2 separate regions of the Homo sapiens genome follow, and region 2 is linked to region 1. The links are contacts of gene promoters, found by promoter capture Hi-C in blood cells and fetal thymus (Javierre and others, 2016). All regions are on one chromosome and are shown on one strand. Each heading gives the region's core, a stretch centred on a gene start or on the middle of the fragment in contact. The rest is flanking DNA. Distances are from core to core; before and after follow the strand shown. Region 1 holds the start of ZNF441 (zinc finger protein 441). Region 2 overlaps ZNF564 (zinc finger protein 564).

What was found. Contacts are between HindIII fragments. The CHiCAGO score rates a contact against its expected background, and 5 or more counts as called.
Region 2: a contact is called between a fragment that was not itself captured here and the fragment with the promoter of ZNF441 in region 1, in 5 of 17 cell types (naive CD8 T cells, activated CD4 T cells, M2 macrophages and 2 more). The highest score is 7.8, in naive CD8 T cells.

What each region holds. Positions count from the first base shown.
Region 1 is chr19:11,764,695-11,770,653 of GRCh38, forward strand. It overlaps ZNF441 (zinc finger protein 441), which reads left to right and starts at 2,306. Exons shown (of 4, transcript NM_152355.3): 1 at 2,306-2,502. The coding sequence starts at 2,500. RefSeq lists an enhancer at 2,467-2,566 and silencers at 2,637-2,776, 3,227-3,336. The HindIII fragment of the contact is 9,985 bases long and covers 1,398-5,959 here.
Region 2 is chr19:12,524,369-12,530,327 of GRCh38, forward strand. It overlaps ZNF564 (zinc finger protein 564), which reads right to left. Exons shown (of 4, transcript NM_144976.4): 2 at 4,202-4,328; 3 at 3,936-3,996; 4 at 1,005-3,548. The coding sequence ends at 2,078. Among named protein-coding and RNA genes, the nearest start is that of ZNF564, 24 kb to the right of the region's middle. The HindIII fragment of the contact is 920 bases long and covers 2,121-3,040 here.

The sequences.
Region 1 (5,959 bases), core at 1,056-3,555:
TGTATCTCAATTTCCTTCAGTTTAGCTCTGATTTTGGTCATTTTAGCTCTGATTTTGGTCATTTCTTGTCTTCTGCTAGCTTTGGGATTGGTTTGCTCTTGCTTCTCTAGTTCTTCTAGTTGTGATATTGGGTTATTAATTTCAGATCTTTCTTTTTGATTTGGGCAGTTAGTGCTATAAATTTCCATCTTAACACTTCTTTAGCTGTGCCCCAGAGATTCTGGTATGTTGTATCTTTCTTCTCAGTTTCCAAGAATTTCTTGATTTTGGTGTTAATTTCATTATTTACTCAGAAGTCATTCTGAACCAGGTCATTTAATTTTGATATAATTGTATGGTTTGGGGAGATTTTCTTAGTCTTGATTTCTATTTTTATTGCACTGTGGTCTGAGAGTGCAGTTGGTATGATTTTGTTTGCTTGTTTTTTTAATTTGCTGAGGGTTATTTTATGTCTGATTATGTTACTGATTTTAGAGTATGTGCCATGTGGTGAGGAGAAGAATGTATAATCTGTTGGTTTTGGGTGGAAAGTTCTGTAGATGTCATATCCATTTGGTCAGGTGTTGGTGGAAGGCTAAGGAGGAGCAAAGGCAAATGTTACATGGCGGCAGGCAAGAGAGCATGTACAGGGAAACTGCCCTTTATAAAGCCATCAGATTTCATGAGACTTATTCACTATCACGAGAACAGCATGGGAAAACCGCCTCCATGATTCAATTACCTCCCACTGGATCACTCCCATGACATGTGGGGATTATGGGAGCTGCAATTCAAAATGAGATTTGGGTGAGTAAGTCTCATGAGATCCGATGGCTTTATAAAGGGCAGTTCCCCTGCACACGCTCTCTTGCCTGCCGCCATGTAACATTTGCTTTTGCTCCTCCTTTGCCTTCCACCATGATTGTGAGGCCTCCCCAGCCATGCTGAACTGTGAGTCAATTAAACCTCTTTTTCTTCGTATCACCATGGGTGCCAGCTCCCAGTTAATAACGCTTTTTTTTTGTTTGTTTTTAAATAGAGATGGGGGTTTCACCACATTGCCCAGGCCGGTCTTGAGCTCCTGAGCTCAAGCAATCCACCCACCTCAGCCTCCCAAAGTGGTGGGATTGCAGGCATGAGCCACGGTGCCTGGCCTCATAATGCTTTTATATCTGGTATTCTTCATAAAAATATGAAGATGAATGTTTTCAAATTCAAAGTCTAATGTCTCAGCCTTTGATTGAAGCATTTAATTCAATAACATTTATAGGCTTGATGGAAGGAGCATTTCCACGCTGTGTTTAGGAGACAGGAGGGCAAATTGAACTCCCAGAGTTAAATCCATTAGTGCCCCTGACTCATCCCCAGGTTCTGATCCACCCTAGGGCTCCATTTCAGGAATTATCGTCTGGCCTCCAAGCTTTGGAATATGTTTGGCCTCCTGAAAGTGGTTGACTTGTGAACTGTGTGTGGATGCAGCAGGCTGCTTATCTGAGCTAGTTCAAGTTTTTGCTTTATAAAATATTGCCGCCATATAATTCCAGTTTTTCCACACATTTAACAATTTTATTTATTTCTTTTTTCTTTTTTCTTTTTTTTTTTTTTTGAGACGGAGTCTCCCTCTGTCTCGCCCACTCTCTCACTGCAGCCTCTGCCTTCCAGGTTCAAGTGATTCCTCTGTCTCAGCCTCCTGAGTAGCTGGGACTACAGGCGTGCGCCACCACATCCGGCTAATCTTTGTATTTTAGAGACGGGATTTCACCATGTTGGCCAGACTGGTCTCGAATTTCTGACCTCAGGTGATCCACCTGCCTCAGCCTCCCAAAGTGCTGGGATTACAGGTGTGAGCCACCACGCCCGGCTTTGTTGGGGTGTTTTTATATTCTGCACTGAAAATTAGTAGATTGAGACATAAGGTGGGAGAAAGGCTTGGCCTGTGCAGCCAACAGCCTCATCCAAAACTCCTGATTCCTGGAGGACATCAGCCCCTCCCTTCTGCTGCAGTGTGGCCTGGGCTCCCTTCCTGCTCTCAAATCAGGGGATAGCTCCACTGGACAGTGAGTCTGGAATTTCCTGCACAGACTTGTGGGTCCCTGTCCAAGAGGAAAAAGGAGGAAGGTCAGGACATACTGCCTAAATGCAAATGTCCCCTGGGAGGGGGTCAGGTCACAGCGCAGGGAGGAAGCTAGTCCTCTCAAGGCCTGTCTGGAATCTGTTTATCAGGTTCCACTCCGCTGCCCGAGATCGCTTCTTCCGTTACTCAGTGCCCGGGGGAGGGACCTGGCGCACTATCCAATCAGGGCCGCGGGGCGGGGTCGTGAGAACTGTCAATCAGGCGCACTGACCGGAGGAGGGTGCAAGGTTCAAAGAGCCCGCCGAGTCTTCTCCACGCCCCTGCACTGGGCTCCGGGTTCTGTCACTGAGAGACGCCCTGGAACGTCTGTGGCAGCTTCTGTCTCGCTGGGACCCGCACTGACAGCGGGAGGCAGAGGGAGGAACCTGGACGCCGGAAGCCGGGAAATGGTGAGTGTGTGAGGTCTGGTGTCCCGACGCGTGAGAGGAGAGACTGGTTGGAACCGGCCGGAACCGGCTGTGGTGGCACCAGGTCTTCCCCGCCGGCGACACCCTGGCGCAGCTCGGCCCTCGGTTCCCTCGGCCGCACGATGGGGCTGGGGCGGCAGCCGGGACCCCGGGCGTCCTGTCCCGTCCCTGCGCGGCCACTGCGGCCCTGGCCCTGGAGGCCTGTCTGGGCAGCTCCGCGCCCGCAGTCCTGCGTCTCCCCAGATTGTGCGGCTGTAACCGGCACAGGTTCGCGGCCCGAGTCACTGCACCGAGACGCCGAGGGCTGCAGCAGAAACAGTTTAATAGGGGGAGAGGGGAGGACACCCCAGATCCGCCTTCCTGAGAGGTTTGGGGATGGGGTGTTTAGGGGTGTGGACAGGGGCGGCTGGGGCGTGGGGTCGCTGGATGGTGGGGAAGTGAGGGGTGACTCTTGGGACTGGAGGTGAAGAAACCGCATTCTTCTGCTGAGTGGGTTCCCTTGTGGGGTCTTCAGCCTGGTTGGCGCCAGCCTTTCCGCTGGAATTCAGGATCTGAGAAAGAACTCAGGCGACTCTTGAGCAACTCTCAGAGATCTCATCCCCAAGCACAATGGCGAAGCCGGCGGTCAGCATCTGCTGTGGCCTGACTCTTGGGGAGGCGGCCCCGCGAGGCAGCGGGGCTGAGGGCACCTGGTTAATATCTAACTGCAATCTCGCCTCCAGCCTGGCTCGCAGTTCTGTGAACCCGGTGAGGAGGCTGCACGGTGATGACAGGTCACCAGGCAGACTCGTGTGTGGGGTTTGTGTGTGGGAGGAGTTGTGGTCTGTGTGGTCCCCTGTCCCTTCTTTCTTCCCAAGGGTGACCCGTTCGCCTTCGAGTCTTCCAAAGATGTGGGCAGCAGGGTCTCAAGTCCACCACTGTGTTCTCTCATCCTAACTCCTCCTAGGGCCGACAGAAAATCCCTTGGCTTCCAGAGCCTTCCTCAGGCTTTCTCTCCTCAATTCACAGCAACTTTATGAACTCCTTGTCCCCCAGTTTATTTTTCAAACAGAGGCTAGTATTTTAATTGTCATTTTGTTTATACATAGCAATATATGGCTCTTTGTAAAAGGTTTTGTGTTTGTGAACATTTCACATGAGAGGAAGCAGAGAAAAACCACCAGACATTTCGCTGTAAAAAAAATGAATATTAATAAATAAAATCTTTGTTACTGTCCTCCCTTCATCATCCCTAGACAGAGACACCTTTTGAGAATGTCTTTGGATTAAGTTTCCTCTTTGGAAACGTTACAGAGTGATGAGTCCCCAGCCCATCCTCTATGGTTTCCTGGTCCTGGGTTTCAGAGCTGCCTGGGGCCACCCCAAGATGCCCACAGCTGCCAAGTCTCTTGTAGTGTCAAGTGAATATCAGTCCCTTTGTCACTCCTCCCAGAGGACACCCTGAGGTGGAGATGGTGGGACCTTGTAGGGAAGCAGCATGATGCCCTGTAGTGGGAGGAGTCTCCTGGTATACCCTTCCTCAATAAGCTACTTCCTTAGAACACTCAGCTTTTCTTCCCCCATCCCTTCCTTGGGGATATATGGCTGGTCAGCCAATTGGATGGTGGTATTAAGGGGACAGGACTGAAATGATTCTTCCCTTCTGATGTTCTCAGACTAATGAAGGGAGAAAACTATCCCTAAGGACAGGAAAACCAACTCCACTGAGGTGGTGCAAGAACCTGAAAAGCTAACAATGTAGTGTCTCCTGGGATCATGGTTATTGAGCACTTCGGTGAGCAGCATGGTGATGGGGGATGTTCCAGGTGATAGGAGGACCTGACTTGACACACTCTGCACCCATAGGGAGGTGGTGAAAGGAGATGATGGTATAAGGGATGCATATGGATCAACCAAATTGAAGAACTGGGAGAAGATAGAGAACTAGAAACTGTGTCAAGGGTCATAAAACCCCTTTTTTGGTATGGAAAAACGAAACCACACTCAAAATGGAAGCTGAGGTAACAAACTGAGTAAAAATTAATGAAAACTGGAAAGTCTATAGTTAGTTGATCATTGTATATGGAGATGCTGGGCAGAAGATGGATTATTCTCCTGTAGGTAACCATTTGTCTCCATCATTTCTGTTGAAGTGTCCCTCATTTGTATCACTGCCTGGCAATACCTGCTGTGTCATAGGTTCTTGTACCTTAAGTAGATGCTCTTGTTCCAGAATTTGCCATTTTTCATTGGTTTATGTATCCATCAGTCTGCTAATATCATACTCTCCTGATTACTATAGTCTTCAAAGCCTTGATGTGTGGTAGAGAAAGACCCTTCCTAACTTAGTCCTTTGGGTTGCTATAACAAATTTACCATAGACTGCATGCCTTACACAACAGATATTCATTTCTCAAAGCTATAAAGGCTGAGAATTCAGTTTCAAGCAGCAGGTCAGTTGTCTACTAAAGGACTCTTTTTTTTTTTATTTTTTATTTTTGAGATGGAGTCTTGCTCTGTTGCCCAGGCTGGAGAACAGTGGCATGATCTCAGCTCACTGCAACCTCCGCCTCCTGGGTTCAAGTGATTCTCCTGCCTCAGCTTCCCAAGTAGCTGGGACTACAGGCACATGCCACCACCCCAGCTAATTTTTTGTATTTTTAGTAGAGACGGTGTTTCACCATGTTAGCCAAGATGGTCTCGATCTCCTGACCTCATGATCTGCCCACCTCGGCCTCCCAAAGTGCTGGGATTACAGGTGTGAGCCACCGTGCCCAGCCTGGGCCTCTTTCTTGATTTGCAGATGGCATTCTTCCTGTTATGCCCTCACATGGTGGAGATATGTCTGTAATGTCTGTCTAGTTTTGGTGTTAAGGCAGTTGTATTAGTCCATTTTCACACTGCTATAAAGAACTACCAGAAAAGAGGTTTAATTGACTCACAGTTCCTCATGGCTGGGGAGGCCTCAGGAAACTTACAATTGTGGCGGAAGGGGAAGCAGGCACTTCTTACATGGTGGCAGGCAAGACAGCATGTGAAAGAGGAACTGTCAAACACTTATAAAACCGTCAGATTTCATGAGAACCCACTATCACAAGAACAGCGTGGGGGAAACCGCCCCCATGATCCAGTCACCTCCCACAGGTCCTTCCCTTGATACATGGGGATTATGGGGATTACAGTTGAAGATTAGATTTGGGTGGTGACAAAGAGCCAAACCATATTATCAGTGTTGGCCTTACAACATGAATTAGAAAGTGTTCCCTCTGCTTGTATTTTCTGAAAGAGATTATAGAGAATTGGTGTCATTTCTTCCATAAGTGTTTTCCAGAATTCAACAGTGAAACCATGCTGGCCTGTTCCTTTTTCTTGGGACTTTTTGTTTGTTTGTTTGCTTGAAGTGGAGTTTTGCTTTGTTGTCCAGGCTAAAGTGCAGTATCATGATCTCACTGCAACTTCT
Region 2 (5,959 bases), core at 1,331-3,830, 760 kb after region 1:
CTTTGAATCTGGGAGGCAGAGGGTGCAGTGAGCCAAGATCTCACCACTGCACTCCAGCTTGGGCGACAGAGCAAGACCCTATCTCAAAAAAAAAAAAGAGAGACCTAGAGTGTCTTGGTATGCTGAAGGTCCCACAAGGTCTATGCAGTACTGTGGTCTTTTCTCCCTTTTTTGTGTGTAAAACATACATAAAATTCACCATCATAATCAATTTTAAGTGTACAGTTCAGTGCCATTAAGAACATTCATACTAGTGTGCAACCATCACCACCATCCACCTCTGGAACCCTTTTTATCTTGCAAAATTGAAACTCTATGCCCATGAAATAACTATCCATTACCCAATTTCCCTAACCTTTGGCAAATGGTATTGTACTTTTTCTATCAATATGACTACTCTAGATACCTGATATAAGTAGAATCATACCGTATTGTCTTTACATGAATGGCCCATTTCACTTAGCACGTCAAGGTTCATCTTGCAGCATATTTGTAAATTTCCTTACTTTGTAAGACTCAGTAATATTCTCTTGTATGTATAAACTTCCTTTTGTTTATTCATCTGTTGATGAAAACCTGAGTAGTTTCCAGAGTTTACCTATTGTGAATGATGCTATGTACACAGGTGTACAAAACCTATTTGAGACTTTGCTTTCAATCTTTTTTGTTTTGTTTTGTTTTTTGAGACGGAGTCTTGCTCTCTCACCCAGGCTGGAGTGCAGTGGCGCGACCTCAGCTCACTGCAAGCTCTGCCTCCCGGGTTCATGCCATTCTCCTGCCTCAGCCTCCCGAGCAGTTGGGACTACAGGCGCCTGCCACCACGCCCGGCTAATTTTTTTTTAGTAGAGACGGGGTTTCATCATGTTAGCCAGGATGGTCTCAATCTCCTGACCTTGTGATCCGCCTGCTTCGGCCTCCCAAAGTGCTGGGATTACAAGCGTGATCCACCACGCCCGGCCCTGCTTTCAATCTTTTTATTTTCCCAGAAATGGAAATGCTGATCATATGTTATTTCTATATTTTAATCTGGGGATCTGCCATACTGTTTTCAGCAGGCTTATACCACTGTACATTCCCAGTGATAGTGCACAATGTTCTCCAACATTCCACATCCTTGACAGTATTTCTTGTTTTCCATCTTTGATACTACTAATCCTAATGAGATGCTATGTATGTCTTGAGTTTGATTTGTATTTCCCTAATGACTAAAGATGTCGAGCATTGTTACGTGCTTATTGGCCATCTGGGTATCTTCTTTGGAGAAATGTCTATTCAAGTCCTTTCCTCCATTTTAAAATTGGATTGTGTCTTAGCTTGGGTTGCTAAAACAAAATACCATAAATTGGAAAGCTTAATTAATCAACAAACATTTATTTCTCATGGTTTGGGAGGCTGGGAAGTCCAATATCAAGGCACTGGCATAGTCCATGTCTGGTAAGGGCCTGCTTCCCGGTTCAAAGATAGCTATCTTCTCACTGCACCCTCTCATGGTGAAGGGCAAAGCTAGCTCTCTAGGGATTCCTATCAGGAAACTAATCCCAATTACAAGGCCTCCATCTTCATGATGTCCTCCAATCCTAAAAACCACCAGAGACAGGGCCTCCAAATACCATCACATTGTGGGGGAGAGGGGGGGCACGGGGGTAAGGTTTCAACATATGAATCTGAGGTGGCATACACTCAGCCAAAACATTACACCTCTGGCCCCCAAAATCCATGTCATCACATGTAAAATATATTCATCTCATCCCAAAGGCCTCAAAAGTCTCAGTTAATTCCAGCATGAAGCCTAATGTTTAAACTCAAACTCCAAAGTGTCATCTCAATATCACATCACTCAGATATGGATGAGACTCAATTCATGCTGAGGCAAAATTCTTCTTCAGCTCCGAACCGGTGAAAACCAAACTAGTCATGTATTTCCAAAATATGAGACAGGCACAGGATAGAGATTCCTATTCCAAAAGTGAGAAACAGGAGAAAGGGGTGAGCTCCCAAACAAGTCTGAAACCCAGAAAGCAAACTGAAGACTTTCCATATTCTTTAGATATGTAGATACTTGTAGACCTGTCCTCCACTATTCATTTTCACAGGTATTCGAAGGTTGTGTGATAAATGAAAGCTTTCCCACATTCTTTACGTAAGGTTTATCTCCATTATGAGCTCTTTCATGTCTTTGAAAGGAACTGGAATAACTGAACGTTTTTCCACATTGCTTACATTCATAGGGTTTTTCTCCGGTATGAGTTCTTTCATGTATTCTAATGGAACTGGCATAATTGAATGCTTTCCCACATTCTTTACATTCATAGGGTTTTTCTCCAGTATGAGTTCTTTCATGTGTTCGGACAGAACTAGGACAGTCAAAGGCTTTACCACATACCTGACATTTATAAGGTCCATCTCCAGTGTGCAGTATCATATGTTTTCTAATCCTTTTAAGAGAAATGAAGGCTTTCCCACATACCTGACATTCATAGGGTTTCTCTCCAGTGTGAGTTCTTTCGTGTATTTGAAATGAACTGGGACAGTCAAAGGCTCTACCACATACCTGACATTTATAAGGTCCATCTCCAGTGTGCTTTATCATGTGTCTTCGGACACTTGGGAGAGAAATGAAGGCTTTCCCGCATTCCTTACATTCATAGGGCTTCTCTCCAGTGTGAGTCCTTTCATGTGTTCGAACATTACTGGAAGAACTGAAGGTTTTACCACATTTATTACATTCATAGGGTTTCTCCCCAGTATGAGTTCTTTCATGCTTTCGAACATAACTGGGAAAAATAAAGGCTCTCCCACATACTTTACATTTATAAGGTCCATCCCCAGTGTGCCTAATCATATGACTTTGAAAATTTGTGAAAGAAATGAAGGCCTTCCCACACTGTTTACATTCATGGGGTTTCTCTCCAGTATGAGTTCTTTCATGTATTCGAAATAAACTGGGGCGGTCAAAGGCTTTTCCACATTCCTGACATTTATAAGGTCCATCTCCAGTGTGCCTAATCATGTGTCTTTGAAAACTTGGAAGAGAAATGAAAGCTTTTGCACATTCCTGACATTCATAGGGTTTCTCTCCAGTGTGAGTTCTTTCATGTATCTGAAATAAACTTGGGCGATCAAAGGCTTTCCCACATTCCTGACATTTATATGGTCCATCTCCAGTGTGCTTAATCATGTGTCTTCGAACACTTGGGAGAGAAATGAAGGCTTTCCCACATTCCGGACATGCATAGGGTTTCTCACCAGTGTGAGTTCTTTCATGTCTTCGAAAGGATTGACAAGAACTGAAGGCTTTCCCACACTGCTTACATTTATATGGTTTCTCTCCATATTCCTGATAGTCATATGGTTTGTGTCCAAGGTGAGATCTGATGTGCCTACTAAGGGATGAATGATGCATGAAGACTTTCCCACACAAACTACATTCACATGGTCTTACTATAGTAGGAATTTTCTTGTTCAGATTAAGATTGAGAATCTGACTGAAGGCTTCTCCACATTGATCATATTCTTTACTTTCACTGAGTCCCTCTTCCATATGATTTCTGGAAAAAATAGAAAGCAAGATTTAGTGGTTTGTGACTTTATATTTATTAATAGGTATTCGACTTACATTTTTACCATAATCGCGGAAAGGGTAAGTTTTCAGGCCTGTATGAATTGTTTGAAAGTGAATGGATGGAATGCTCTGCAAGAGAGCTTGACAGTAGCTATCACCAAAAAAGTGATATCCATATATACAGTTTCTTAATACTATTTCCAAGTGAATGATTTTGCAACACTGAACATCTATGCCACTTTTTCTTTTTCTGGTGAAAAAGTTGTAGGAATAAATAAATCTGAAGCTGGGCTTACTGGTTTGTTTACTTATTTTTAAAATTTCATGACATACTAAGAAGGAGACATTGCTTTATCTTGTCAGTGCAAATTACCTTAAAATTCTCCCCTGATTTTTGTACCAATCTTCAATGCTCTGGTCTTCCCATTTTTTTCCTAAAATATAGTCAGAAAAAATCCTTATGAACTGATAGACATTACAGAAAAATGACTAGATTCTAAGTTCATGATAAGGTGCAAACAACCCTGATTTATTCACCCAAGTATTCCCTTTTCCACATTAGACATCATGAAAAAGCATTAAAAAGCAAGAAATACTTCTTCTCTAACTGACTAAAAGAAGGAATGATGTCATCCTTACCTACACAGGCCAGGTTTCTAAAGGTTTCCCGCATCACATCTCTGTAGAGTTTCTTCTGGGAAGGATCCAGCAAAGCCCACTCCTCAAGTGTGAAGTTCACAGCCACATCCTCAGAGGCCACTGAGTCCTAAAACATCCCAAATATGCAATGCAGGAGGAAGAATGAGATGACAGTACAGGGATGTAAACCCAATTCATAAAAGTTCACAAATGGCTAGGTGTGGTGGCTCATGCCTGTAATCCCAGCACTTTGGGAGGCCAAGGCATACAGATCACCTGAGGTCAGGAACTTGAGGCCAGCCCGGTCAACATGGTGAAACCCCATCTCTACTACAGATATATGAATTAGCTGGGCGTGGTGGCGTATGCCTGTTAATCCCGGCTACTCAGGAGGCTGAGGCAGGGGAATCGCTTAAACAAGGGAGGCAGAGGTTACGGTGAACCAAGATCACGCCACTGCACTTCAGCCTGGCTGACAGAGAGAGACCCCATCTCAAACAAACAAACAAAAAACAAAACAAAAAAGTCGACAAAACGATGTGGCAGTCTCCAAACATTTATTTTATGATAAATAAATATGGTTGTCAGAATTCCGTCTACATTCACTTTCTCATAAATTTAATTACCCCATGAAAACATGCAACTGATCTCTACATTTTTACTGTAGTCACTACAAGTTTTATTGGTCTCTAATGGCAGGATCCAGTTCACCTTGGAGAAACAAATAAAATGCTATACAAAGAAAACAAATTTTGGCCAGGCCTGGTGGCTCACACCTGTAATCCCAGCACTTTGGGAGGCTGAGGCAAGAGGATCACAAGGTCAGGAGTTTGAGACCAGCCTGACCAACACAGTGAAACCCCGTCTCTACCAAAAATACAAAAAAATTAGCCGGGCATGGTGGCATGCACCTGTAATCCCAGCTACTCGGGGGGCTGAAGCAGGAGAATAGCTTGAACCCAGGAAGCGGAGGTTGCAGTGAGCTGAGATCATGCCATTGCACTCCAGCCTGGAGGACAGAGAGAGACTAAGTCTCAAAAAAAAAAAATTTAAGATCATCATTCCTACCAGGAAAAACTTCCATTTCCTTTCATATCTCACACCAATCAGCATTCCATGAAACACAGGGTAGGCCAGGCGCACTGGCTCATGCCTGTAATCCCAACACTTTGGGAGGCAGAGGCAGGCGGATCACCTGAGATCAGGAGTTTGAGACCAGCCAGCCCAACATGGCAAAACCCTGTCTCTACTAAAAATACAAAAAATTCACTGGGCGTGGTGGTGGGCACCTGTAATACCAGCTACTTGGGAGGCTGAGGAAGGAGAATCGCTTGAGACCAGGAGGCGGACGTTGCAGTGAGTAGAGATTGTGCCACTGCACTCCAGCCTGGGTGACAAGAGCAAAACTCTGTCTCAAAAAAAAAAAAAAAAAGAAAGAAAGAAAGAAAAAAAGAAACACAGGATAAAAACTGAAAAAGGTATCCATGAATAAATAAATATACACTGAAGAAGTGAAACCATTTTCTTCTGTTCCCTTCATCAAACATGAGAGGCCAGAAGGCCCGTAGAAATCCACGTTCTGACAAAATCCAGCTGACCACACTTTCCTGAAGGATTCCAGGCCATCAGACGTAGACAGATCAAGTTGGTTGAAAGAAAATATTCCTCTGCAAAAGAAGTCATTTTAACCTGCATGTATAACATTTGTTATAGACTCACTGATTCCTTTGACTCTGTCCCATTTCACTAGGCTAGGAA